Linked DNA regions of Homo sapiens: region 1 is linked to region 2. Evidence: promoter capture Hi-C in 16 types of primary human blood cells and fetal thymus (Javierre and others, 2016). All regions are on one chromosome and are shown on one strand. The core of a region is centred on a gene start or on the middle of the fragment in contact, and the rest is flanking DNA. Distances in the headings are between cores, read along the strand shown.

What was found. Contacts are between HindIII fragments. The CHiCAGO score rates a contact against its expected background, and 5 or more counts as called.
Region 1: a fragment that was not itself captured here is called in contact with the fragment with the promoter of MYG1 in region 2 in 2 of 17 cell types (total CD8 T cells and naive CD8 T cells); the score reaches 5.3 in total CD8 T cells.

The regions. Positions count from the first base shown.
Region 1 is chr12:53,127,080-53,133,224 of GRCh38, reverse strand. It overlaps the pseudogene VTI1BP3. Among named protein-coding and RNA genes, the nearest start is that of SOAT2, 27 kb to the right of the region's middle. The HindIII fragment of the contact is 347 bases long and covers 1,315-1,661 here.
Region 2 is chr12:53,297,867-53,304,041 of GRCh38, reverse strand. It overlaps MYG1 (MYG1 exonuclease), which reads right to left and starts at 4,347. Exons shown (of 7, transcript NM_021640.4): 1 at 4,089-4,347; 2 at 3,780-3,892; 3 at 849-1,008. The coding sequence starts at 4,304. PFDN5 (prefoldin subunit 5) reads right to left here. Exons shown (of 6, transcript NM_002624.4): 4 at 6,118-6,175; 5 at 5,892-5,997; 6 at 4,592-4,773. The coding sequence ends at 4,697. RefSeq lists enhancers at 4,123-4,302, 4,373-4,432, 4,243-4,537, 4,443-4,542, 4,583-4,672 and 1 more. The HindIII fragment of the contact is 10,124 bases long and covers 1-5,539 here.

The DNA of each region.
Region 1 (6,145 bases), core at 239-2,738, 170 kb after region 2:
AGGGTTTCTCCATGTTGGTCAGGCTGGTCTCGAACCCTCAAACTCAGGTGATCTGCCCGCCTCAGGCTCCCAAAGTGTTGGGATTACAGGTGTGAGCCACCGTGCCTGGCCTTTTTTTTTTTTTTTTTTTGAGAGAGTCTCATTCTATCGCCCAGGCTAGAGCGCAGTGGCACAATCTCAACTCACTGCAACCTCTGCCTCCCGGGTTCAAGCGATTCTCCTGCCTCAGCCTCCAGAGTAGCTGGGATTATGGGTGCACACCACCATGCCCAGCTAATTTTTGGTATTTTTAGTAGAGACAGGGTTTCACCATGTTGGCCAGGCTGGTCTTGAACTCCTGACCTCAGGTGATCCTCCCACCTCGGCCTCCCAAAGTGCTGGGATTACAGGTGTGAGCCACCACGCCCAGCCTTGGCATATTCTTAAAAATTAATTAATTAATTTTGTTTTTGGAGACAAGGTCTCACTCTGTCACCCAGGCTGGAGTGCAGTGGCACTATCATAGCTCACTGCAGCCTCAGACTCCTGGTCTCAAGGAGTTCTCCTGCCTCAGCCTTCTAAGTAGCTGGGACTACAGATGTGGCCTCCGCACCTGGCTAATTTTTTTTTATTTTTGGTAGAGATGAGTTCTTGCTATGTTGGCCAGGCTTATGTATTTTTAAAGAAGTCATGGCCGGGCGCGGTGGCTCATGCCTGTAATCCCAGCACTTTGGGAGGCCAAGGCGGGCAGATCACGAGGTCAGGAGATCGAGACTATCCTGGCTAACATGGTGAAACCCTGTCTCCACTAAAAATACAAAAAATTAGCCAGGCGTGGTGGCGGGCACCCGTAGTCCCAGTTACTCTGAAGGCTGAGGCGGGAGAATGGCGTGAACCCAGAAGGTGGAGTTTGCAGTGAGCCGAGATCACGCCATAGCACTCCAGCCTGGACGACAGAGTGAGACTCTGTCTCAAAAACAAAAACAAAAACAAAACAAAACAAAACAAAAAACCAACAACAAAAAAAGAAGTCATAAACAGCATTATTACCTTGGTATATCATACTGGTCTTGTTGCTGTCACTTCACAGTTAAGTGGCTTTCCACCTTTCCTCCCTTCTCCCCCACAGTCTGGCTACGCAGTGCATCCTTGAACTGTTAGCCCACAGGAGCAACATGCTTATTCCATCCACATCCCTAACACCATGCATTCCCAAGGTCAAAGTTCTGGTCCACAATCCTTCCCTATTGCAAGTCCCATGCTTGCAAAAGAACACAAAGTAAACCAAGCCTCCCAGGATGGCTAGCTCCAGTGAGATGATGGAAAGCAGAAGCTTGTTGGTTATCACTTTTCTGGACTTAGAAGAGAGAATCTTTCGACTTTTGAACAAGTTTTCACTTGCGTTTCCCAGTGTACTCTTGGTACGTTCTCACTGGTCCCGTTGGTTCCCCAGCTCTTCTGAGATTTCTGAGCCAATCTGGTCAGTCTCTTGGGTGGCCCGGCCCAGGCTTTTGGTGCCTTGGAGAAGCATTGCCCTTTGAGACTGTAGCCTATTCATATGCTCATTCTCTACAGCATATGTGCCATATTTCATGTCTCCTCGGTCCCCAGGCATGGCTGCAAAGGTGTACTTCTTGCCTCCAGATGGAATTGGGCAAGGTCCTTCTGATAGTCTTGAAGCTTAGACATCATGGGGTTATGGAAAGATACGGGTGCATAATGTAGTTCCTCCTCCATCTGTGTCAGCATTTTGTTTGCTTCCTGTTGCTTTTCATCAAAATCTCTGATCAGCTTCTCCTGGGTCCCTGCCATACCCAGCAGCCACTAGTGCACCCCTTGGAGGCACATCTCGTGCAGCTGCTCAAAACGCTCCAAGGAGGTGGCAGAGAGAGGCATGGTGTAGGCGGTGCTTCAGCAGCGCCCACCAAGATTCTGGGCACTGGGCCCTCTCCTAGCTTGTCAGTCAGCAGCCCTGGCCTGTAGCCATCCCCACCACTGATGCCTGATTTCATTTATGTGAAATATCCAGAATAGGCCATGCATGGTGGCTCATGCCTGTAATCCCAGCACTTTGGGAGGCTGAGGTGGGCAGATCACTTGAGCCCAGGAGTTTGAGACCAGCTTGGCAACATGGCAAAACCCCATCTCTACAAAAATAATTTTTTAAGTACAAAATCTAGCTGGGTGTGGTGGTGTGCACCTGTGGTCTCCGCTACTCAGGAGACTGAGGTAGGAGGATTGCTTGTGCGAGGAGTTCAATGTCGCAGTGAGCTATGATGGCACCACTGTACCCAGAAACCACTGTCTGGGTGACAGAATGAGACCTTGTCTCAAAAAAAAAAACAGAAAAAAGAAAAAGAAAAGAAATATCCAGAAAGTAAATCAGTGGTTGCCCAAGGCTGGGAGGTTTTCGGGACATGGAGAGTGACTACTAGTAGGTATGAGATTTTGGGGGCCAGTGATGAAATGTGCTAACTGTGGTGATGGTTGCACAAATCTGAATATACTAACATTATTTTATTTATTTATTTATTTTGAGACGGAGTCTCGCTCTGTCACCCAGGCTGGAGTGCAGTGGTGCCATCTCGGCTCACTGCAAGCTCTTCCTCCCGGGTTCACACCATTCTCCTGCCTCAGCCTCCCGAGTAGCTGGGACTACAGGTGCCCGCCACCACGTCCAGCTAATTTTTTTTTTTTGTACTTTTAGTACAGACAGGGTTTCACCATGTTAGCCAGGATGGTCTCGATCTCCTGACCTCGTGATCCACCCACCTCGGCCTCCCAAAGTGCTGGGATTACAGGCTTGAGCCACTGCGCCCGGCCTATACTAACATTATTGACTTGCATACTTTAGGTGGACAAATTGTATGATATGTGAATTATATTTGAATAAAGCTGACTAAACCCTTTATATAAATTTAAAAGGTACAATAAAGCACTACATTTTCAAGAATCCATACAGATTTGTCATGTGTCAAAGTGGGTCCATCTGATGAGAGGGGAAATAACAGGAAGGCTTGTGTACTGGAGCAAATAACCCATATTAAAATATGAGAGGCCCCTTTGCAGACCTATGATCAACACTTGAGTGAATGTGAGGTGAAAAACCTCAACAGTGGGGACAGGCAACTCTTTGGAGAAGTGTGGCTGTGACAGGGAGCTGAGAAGTGGGACAGCAGCCTGATGTAGCTGTGGGGGAGGAGAGGGACAGTTAGACATAGGGAGAGTAGACTAGGAGCATAGCTGGCTGCTGTTGGGAGCAATCTAGTAGAAGGGAGAATGGAGGGATGGTGCCAGAGCTGCTGATATCATTGAGTGAGATGGTAGGAGGAGAGGGAAGAGGGCGAATTTCTTCAGTTAACAGGAAGGAATTGGGGCAGAGGAGAGCTGCTGGGGAGTTCTGTGGGCTTGGAGAGGGATGATGGGAGAAGAGAGAATGAATGATATAGTTCCTTTGAAGAATGGAAAGGAAATCCTGGCCAGGCATGGTGGCTCACGCCTGTAATTCCAACACTTTGGGAGGCTGAGGTGGGTGGATCACCTGAGGTCAGGAGGTCAAGACCAGCCTGGCCAATGTGGTGAAAACCCGTCTCTACTAAAAATACAAAAATTAGCCGGACATGGTGACATGCACCTGTAGTCCCAGCTATTCAGGAAGCTGAGGCATGAGAATCGCTTGAACCCAGAAGGCAGAGGTTGCAGTGAGTCAAGATTGCACCACTGCACTCCAGCCTGGGAGACAGAGCAAGACTCTGTCAAAAAAAAAAAAGGAAGAAAGAAAGAAAAAAAAGGAAATCCTGCATGCAGATTAAGATTAAGGTCATTGGACTTTGCTGAAATGCCCATTTGAAGCCTGTGTTGTAGAACGGTGGAGTGTGTGTTATGGAAGAGGAGCTCCGCATGGCAGAGCATGAGAGGAGCATGGATAGTGAGGTGTGGGGTGTTACAGAGGTCACAGACACTGGACAGCACAGATTCGGGAGGGGACCATAGGACAGCAGAGCGAGTGCTATAAGGGTCCCAGGACAGGCAAGGTGATTTAAAGAAGGGGAAACACTAGGCAAAATCAAAGGGGTGAAGGGAAGGTGTCTGTAACAAGCAGTTGGGTGCAGTCTGGGGACACACAGGGGACAACACTCGCAGACTGTAGACAGGAAGAAAGGTGGCTCTCAGCAGGGGAGGAAAGTCCTGCCGGGCAGCAGCCTCACCACCTACTGCCACCCTAGGTACTTCCCGAACCACAGCCCTCTGACCCCTGAGGATCCTGAAGGGAGGGCTGTGTGGGCACAAAGCTAATAATAAAAGGGTGTCCAAAGAGGAGGGGGGCCTGAGGCCATGCACAGATGGCAACTTCTGGTCTGACCCACCTTTACTCATCTTCAGGTGAGCCCAGTGGTGGTGTCCTGCCTGGAGTGCCTTCGGGTCCCCGCTGGTGCCTCCTCCTTAGACACACCTGGGCTCGTCAGGGATGCACCCATGAGCGTTTCGGTGGAGGAGGCGCCTGGATGGAGCTCATTCGTGTACAAGTCCCAGTACCGTGAACTAGTAGGAAGACTAAACATAAAACTAGGAGATAATTCCCTGACATTGGGTTAATTTCCTTACCATAAAAAGAATGTATAATTTTGGGCTGGGCGCGGTGACTCATGCATGTAATCCCAGAATTTTGAGAGGCTGAGGCAGGCAGATCACTTGAGTCCAGGAGTTCAAGACCAGCCTGGCCAACACAGTGAAATCCCATTTCTATTAAAAATAGAAAAAATTAGCCAGGTGCAGTGGGGCACACCTGTAACGCCAGCTACTCGGGAGGCAGAGGCATGAGAATCTCTTGAGCGGGAGGTTGCAGTGAGCTGAGATCGCACTCCTATACTCCAGCCTGGATGACAGAGCAAGATTTTGTCTCAAAAAAAAAAAGAAAAAAAAAGTAAGAAAGAAAAGAAAGAATAATTTTGAAGAAGAAAAAGGAAAAAAAGGAGGAGAAGAAAGAGGGCTTGGTTCGGTGTATGCTAAAGAAGTGGTCCCTAGATCAGCAGCAAGGGCTTGCCCTGGAAACTTGTTAGAAATGCACATTCTCAGGCTTGACCCCAGACTTAATGAATCAGAAACTCTGTATTAACAAACCCCGAAGGTAGTTCTAATGCACGATGGAGTTTGAGAACTACAGTTCTAAGGCAATTTCCACTCTATTCCACCCTCATTTCCAAACATTTAGCCATGTTGCTGCTGGAGCCAGGCTGCAGGGTGCCAATTAAAGCCTTAACTTAGGGTTAGAGGGGGGAAGTCCTGGTGTGGAGACCTGGTGAGGAGCTTCCTCACTCTCACTGCATAGAGACCAGCTTTGAAGCACCCAGAGCAGAGAGATCAGGACCATGGGAACACTGGAAGAATGTGACTCAGAGAGCCTTGGCCCTGCAGGGATGCAGTTATGATAGCTTGTTTCCCTGCCCACCAGAAAGCACAGTAGCCACTGAAAGAGATATATGATAACTTAAACAATTAGGAGCACTTAGAGATTCAAGTAGTATGAAAAAAAAAAAAAAAAAAAAAGAGGAAGAAGAAAAGAAAGAAAAAAAAGGAAAAAGAAAGAAACAACTTTTGGGAACTAAAAAAACAACACTTTCAACAACAAAAAAATTAGTATATGTATTGAAAGAGAGAATAGGCACTGCTGAGACTCAAATTAGTGGCTTGGAAGAACAAGTGGAAATAATATTTCAAAGCATGGAGCAAATACTATGAAGAGATGGAAATAATGAGGAAAATGTGATTCTTGGAGAGTAGATCCAGTAGTCCTGAAATTCAACTATATTAGTTCCAAAAGGGGGAAAAGGAATAGATGGAGGAGAAGCAATAAAGAATAGAAGAAAATTTTGCTGACGTGAAGAAATATCTGAGCTTGAAGACTGAAAGGAAACAGGAAGATACAACAAGAAAAGACATACACACAGGCATGAAACTCCCAAACTTCAAGGTTAAAGAAAAACATTTTCAAGTTTTTAGACAGAAAGAGCAAGTTATCTACAAAAGGAAACAAATCACATTGGTATGGGACTTTTCATCTGCAACACTGGAGGCTCAAAGTGGGAAAACTGAGAGAAATAAATGACTACACAGGAATCTTTCTTTCTTTCTTTTTTTTTTTTTTTTTTTGAGATGGAGTCTCGCT
Region 2 (6,175 bases), core at 3,098-5,597:
GAAACCCCACCTCTACTAAAAATACAAAAAATTAGCCGGGCATGGTGATGGGCGCCTGTAGTCCCAGCTACTCGGGAGGCTGAGGCAGGAGAATGGCGTGAACCCGGGAGGCGGAGCTTGCAGTGAGCCAAGATTGCGCCACTGCACTCCAGCCTGGGCGACAGAGCAAGACTCCATCTCAAAACAAAAAACAACAAAAAAACTGAGAACTGAATTCAACAGCCTACCTGCAAGAAATACAGCTGACTGAACCTGGGCTTTGACTTGTAAACAAGTAAGTGTCCTCAGTACTGTGCGACCTGACTTGCATGCCAGGGCCACTAGCCATATTCTTTCCCTAAGAGCAGGAAGCTGCTTGCAGGGGACACTGGTGGAATCCAAAGACAGTTTCATAATAAAACTCTTCTCAGCTGAGCTTCCCAATTTATGTGCCACTAGTGAACTACAGTGGTGCCTAACATACACTCCCCTCAACCTTCAGGGCAGCCAGAACCTCTGAGCCATCTGCTTCCACACATAAGCAGCCTCCCCTCTGTTTACCCAAAGGTGCTGAGCAATTGCTGTTTGTGTGTGTCAATAAAAAGACGGGGCCATGCTGCTTTATGGTTTTCAAAGCCCTTCCCCATATATTACAGCATCCACTTCTCACAACCACCCCAGGATGTAGACAGGGGAGGTATCACCATTCCCTTGTGAGATGAGCCTGACTGAGGGAGAGGATGAGTGTTGGGCCTGCTATAGGCCAGGAACCCTGACCCGAGGCCCAGTGCTGAGTGCTGTGTGAGCACTGCTCCCAGGCGGCCTGCTGGAAATGCATGTGGGGGGCATCTCTGTCCTCAGGTCCCCACCTTGTCATAGAGGGTGCCCACCATGCTGTCCTCTTCACTAGTGCCCAGCAACTGGGCCAGCAGCTTGTGCCCGAAGTGCAGATAGATGAGTCCCGCACTGCTCAGCTTGGTCTGCCACGGCTTCCCAGGGGACAGGGAGCTCATGGTCTCTGTGAAAGACCTGAGGAGCATAGGGAGGTGGGGCTGAGGTGAGGGACCTTGGCTAGAGTCTCCATGCATTCATTCAATGGTTAACTCAATGCTTCCTATCTGCCACATTTTATGTTTTATTAGACATTAAGGATAAAAAACCAAGACACTGTCCTTGCTTTCAGATTCATCTGCCGGAGGCCGACAAACACAACCCCCTGAGTACTCTCACTAGACGAGACAAGGGAAAGGAAGGAAGGGATGAGGAAAGGGTTCAGAGGAGAGCCTTCAGGTCAGTTCTGAAAGATGAATTAGTGGGTGTCCACCAGATAGACAAGGGGTGAAAGAGAAAAAGCATTCCAAGCAGAGAGAACAACATGAATGATGGCTGAGAGACAAGTGTCTTGATGGAACTTCAGCAAAGGCAGCTCAGGTGTGAGAAGTGAATGGCAAAAGAAAAAGCTGGAAGGGCAGGCAGGGCCAGACCATCGGACTTTATCTGTGGGTAATCGAAGTCATTGGGGGATTTTAAGCAGGCAGGTGCATGTTACAGCATTGCACCAGCCAGCATGGAGAACAGATGCAAGGAGATTACCTGCAATGGTTCAGGTGAATAAAGAAGGCAAGAATTTGAACAGCAGTGGGGCAGAAAATAGAGAAAAGATATAACAGATGTTAGGGAAGCAGAAACTACAGCCATGATTTCTAAATACCAGTCCATCTCAGAATTACCTAGGGAGCTCCATTTGTTAACTGACTTTTATTATTAAATATTGAGTAAATACAGGCTGGGCTCAGTGGCTCACACCTCTAATCCCAACACTTTGGGAGGCCAAGGCGTGATCACTTGAGGTCAGTAGTTTGAGACCAGCCTGGCCAACATGCTGAAACTCTGTTTCTACTAAGAATGGAAAAATTAGCCGGACATGGTGGCACACGCCTGTAGTCCCAGCTTCTTGGGAAGCTGAGGCAGGAGAATTACTTGAATCTGGGAGGTGGAGGTTGAAGTGAGCTGAGTGCCACTGCACTCCAGCCTGGGCAACAATAGCGAAACTCCATCTCAAAAAAAGTAAAAATAAAAAAAATGAGGCTGGGCATGGTGGCTCACACCTGCAATCCTAGCACTTTGGGAGACTGAGGCGGGTGGATCACCTGAGGTTAGGAGTTCAAGACCAGACTGGCCAACATAGTGAAACACTGTCTCTCCTAAAAATACAAAAATTAGCTGGGCGCCTGTAGTCTCAGCTACTTGGGAGGCTGAGGCAGGAGAATCACTTGAACCCAGCAGACGGAGGTTGCAGTGAGTCGAGATCACATCACTGCACTCCAGCCTGGGTGACAGACGAGACTCCATCTTAAAAACAATTTGATAAAAGGAAGTGGTCAATAATGCCAAGTGCTAAAGAGATCAGTTGAGACCCTTTACCAGCTCCCTGGTTTGGTGCTGAGGTAACTGGTGCCCTTCTGCCGAGCAGTTCCAGAGAAGACACTGGGAGAGTGGGCTTGAGGGGAATGAACTGGAAAGGAACAGGTGAAGCCACGGTCAGCTGTTTTTTGAAGGGTGGCTGAGAAGCAAGGGTGAGAGCTTAGGCTGTAAATATTGGGAGGGTTTCTTCCTGACATCATTTATAATATGTATGCTAAAAAAAGAAAAAAGGAGAGAGACTTAAAACATCATAATCCCTCTCTCCAAGATAATTACTTCTCGTGGTGTGGTATAATTGAGGGAGGGTTTTGTTTTTACACCTGTGTTTCTTTTCAAGATGGAAGATACTTGAGAAGGGTTTTAGGCTGTAGGGAAGGAGAGGCAGAGACACTAGTGGAACTGTGACATGAAATCCCAGAGGATAGGCCAACAGTGGCTCACACCTGTAATCCCAGCACTTTGGGAGGCCAAGGCGGGGCAGATCACAAGGCCAGGAGTTCGAGACCACTCTGGCCAATATGGTGAAACCCGTCTCTACTAAAAATACAAAAATTAGCCGGGTGTGGTGGTGGGTGCCTGTAGTCCCAGCTACTCGGGAGGCTGAGACAGGAGAATCGCTTGAACCTGGGAGACAGAGGTTGCAGTGAGCCGAGATCGTGCCACTACACTCCAGCTTGGGCGACAGTGGGAGACTCCGTCTCAAAAAAAAAAAAAAAGAAAAGAAAAAAGAATCCCAGAGAAGAAAGTAATAGACTGGAAACAGGACAGAGGATTAACCTCCAATAGAAGGGAAGAAATTTCCCTTAGTTGGTAGGAGGGAGCTGAGGATGTTTGAGGTGGGAGACTGAGGAAATGCTCAACTTCTTTTGAAAAGAGGCAGGGACACTCAGTTTGATGCGGTAGAGGCTTGAGGGAGAAGAAAAGGATTGGAATGGGCTACCCTTGAGCAAGAAGGATTTCCCTTTGGAAGGGTGTAAATGAAGTAGAAAACTTCACACATCTGAACTGTCACCAACTGCCACAATCATGTGGGCCCAGCAGTTAGGTGCAGCAGCAAGGGCACCAGAATGGATTAATCACAGATGGGTTTATTTAGTTGGGGTGATGAAGTTGCTGATGGAAAAAAAGCCTTGGCTAAGGAAGGAGATGAGATAAGGGGCCTGAGGGACTCCCTGGGAACCAAAGGAGGTCCCAGGCCAGGGAGATGGGTGAAGAACAGGCAGGGCCGGAAGGATGATGTAGTCCTAGTGGGAGTTTGATTTCAGTGATGAAGCAGTTCTTTTCGCTGACGCGGACTACGGCAGTGGATGGCTGAATTGGAGCACAGAGGAAAGCTGAGGTCAAGGAAGTTAAATAAATGGTATCTGAGAACCTACCTCTGGTGATGGTCATATCGGTGTCTCCGAGGGTCGTACTCGCCCCCCACGTCCACCACGATGTCACAGGAAGCGAGTTTTTCGGGATCCCGGGTCCGCACAATCTCTGCATCCTGCGAGGTACACAGGGGTGAAGGGGCTGCCGGGTGTCGCCGGGTAGGGGATTAATGCTGGACTTCAGGGAGGCAGGAAGGGTAGGAAGGGTGCTTGGGCTGCCGGGCGCTATCGGAGTGACCCTGTTGGCGGAATGCCATCCACCCCGGAGGCATGCATGCACGCAGTCCCAGGGTCACTTTTCGCGGACCGTACCCGGTACTCCGGCAGGAGGCGAAGCAGTGCGCATGCCAGTGCCTCGTCGCAGTGGAAGGTGCCATTGTGCGTCCCGATTCGGGGCGGTGCCATGAGTTTGCTGCGGGATCGTTTTGGGGGCGGGACGGACTCTGGACCGAGCATGCGGTGCCGGGTATACAGGGGTGGCGGCGGCAGCAGCAGCGTTAAGAGGCCGCGCAGGAATTGGTGTCCCATAAGCAGCTCCCTGCAGGGAGGCAGGAGCGCCGACCCGGAAGAGGAAGCGCCAGCGCAGCCCCACTTCCGCTTGCCAACCGTTCCCTTGGCAACCAGCTCTGCAGAGTGAGCAGCAGCAGACTCCCAGCCTAGGATTTCTTCCAGCTGGTCAAAGGGCCCTGCGATGGAGCCTCCAAGAGGCGCATCGCATCACCCCTGCGCATCAGGCTCTGAGACGGGGCCCACACTCTCGACCACACCCCCCATCTCATCACCAGTCCCTTGCTTAATCCAAGAAAAGACCAACATTCTGCCCAGCTGGCACATTTATTGGCATTAAAACACAAGACCCTTCCCATCACCAGGAAGCCACGCCCAAAGGGTGTCCCTCTGCCCCATTTCTGCAAAAACTCTCAGGCCTTAGCAGTAGCCTGAGCTGCCCCCAGGGCTGTGAGCTGCTGAATCTTCTGACTCATCATTTCCATGACGGCTGTGGAAAAAAATAAGAGTCAAAGGTTAGAAGCAAAAAGGAGAACCTAGAGTTAAGGAGAAGTGACAGGCAAGTTTAAGGACAGGCGACCGACTAACTACAGTTTGTTAATAACCTTTTTTTTTTTTTTTTGAGACAGAATCCTGCTCTTGTCACCGAGGCTGGAGTGCAGTGGCACGATCTTGGCTCACAGCAACCTCCGTCTCCCGGGTTCAAGCGATTCTCCTGCCTCATCCTCCCGAACAGCTGGGATTACAGGCATGCACCACCATGCCCGGGCTAACTTTGTATTTTTAGTAGAGATGGGGTTTCACCATGGTGGCCAGGCTGGTCTTGAACTCCTAACCTCAGGTGATCCACCTGCCTTGGCCTCCCAAAGTGCTGGGATTACAGGCGTCAGCCACTGCGCCTGGCATTGTTAATAAAACTTTAACTCAGTGATCCACTGTGGGGTCACTAACACAAATTTAGGGTCTACAATGCATCGGTCAATATGCTAACACAGCTGGGTGTGGTGAGAATGAGACTCTTCTCGGAAAAAAAAAAAACCTGCTAACCAAAGATATAAAAACGAACACAATATGGTATTAAATGAGTCTGACATAATCAGAAAACTATGATGGGGAAAGATTTTTACCTTTGGAACACTGGTTCTGAATCCTGATTATAACAGAGGGGAGCTTTTTTAAAAAAAAACAGACCTTGGTACAACTTCCCCTCCTTTGACTTCCAAGTTGATTTAGTCAATCTGGAATGGGCCCAAGCTTTCTTTTTAAACTTCCTGAGTGATTCTCATGTGCAGTCGGGGTTATAATTGCTGGTATTTAGTTCGTTTGGATCATGATTCCTTCCTGTGTGTTCATCTCATTCCCCCATTCCATCGTCATTAAATAGGAGCTCCACCAAAGCACAAACATGATTTCCTTCCTCTAAATTTCTCAAACGCTCAACCCAGGAATCTACAGATAGTGATTATGCAATACACAGATTCTAAAGATGCCAAAGAGAAACTAAGACATAGTTTTACTCCAGCAAAGGGGACACCCCCGTGGTTCACACTGCAATCCATGTTCCTTATTATGGAGATAGGGTCAAGAGGTGCCCCAGGAAAAACTTACCCTGTTTCATGGCGTGCTTCTCCTGAAGAGCTGGTTGGATTTTCTCCATCTGCTTGGTTAGAAAATCTATCTTCCTCTTGAAGAAGTCCTTGGCATCCTCAGCTGTCTACAAGATCAGAGGTGAATAAGGGGCTAAAAGGAGACTCCCTCTGGCCATGCTGCGCTCTAGAGCTTCCCCTGAATTTCCCTTCCCTGTTTAGAGGGGCATCCACATGCTCTCACTCACCTTCTCTACATAGTACCCAGTTCCCACATCGATGAGCACGTGTTCCACATCATGCAGC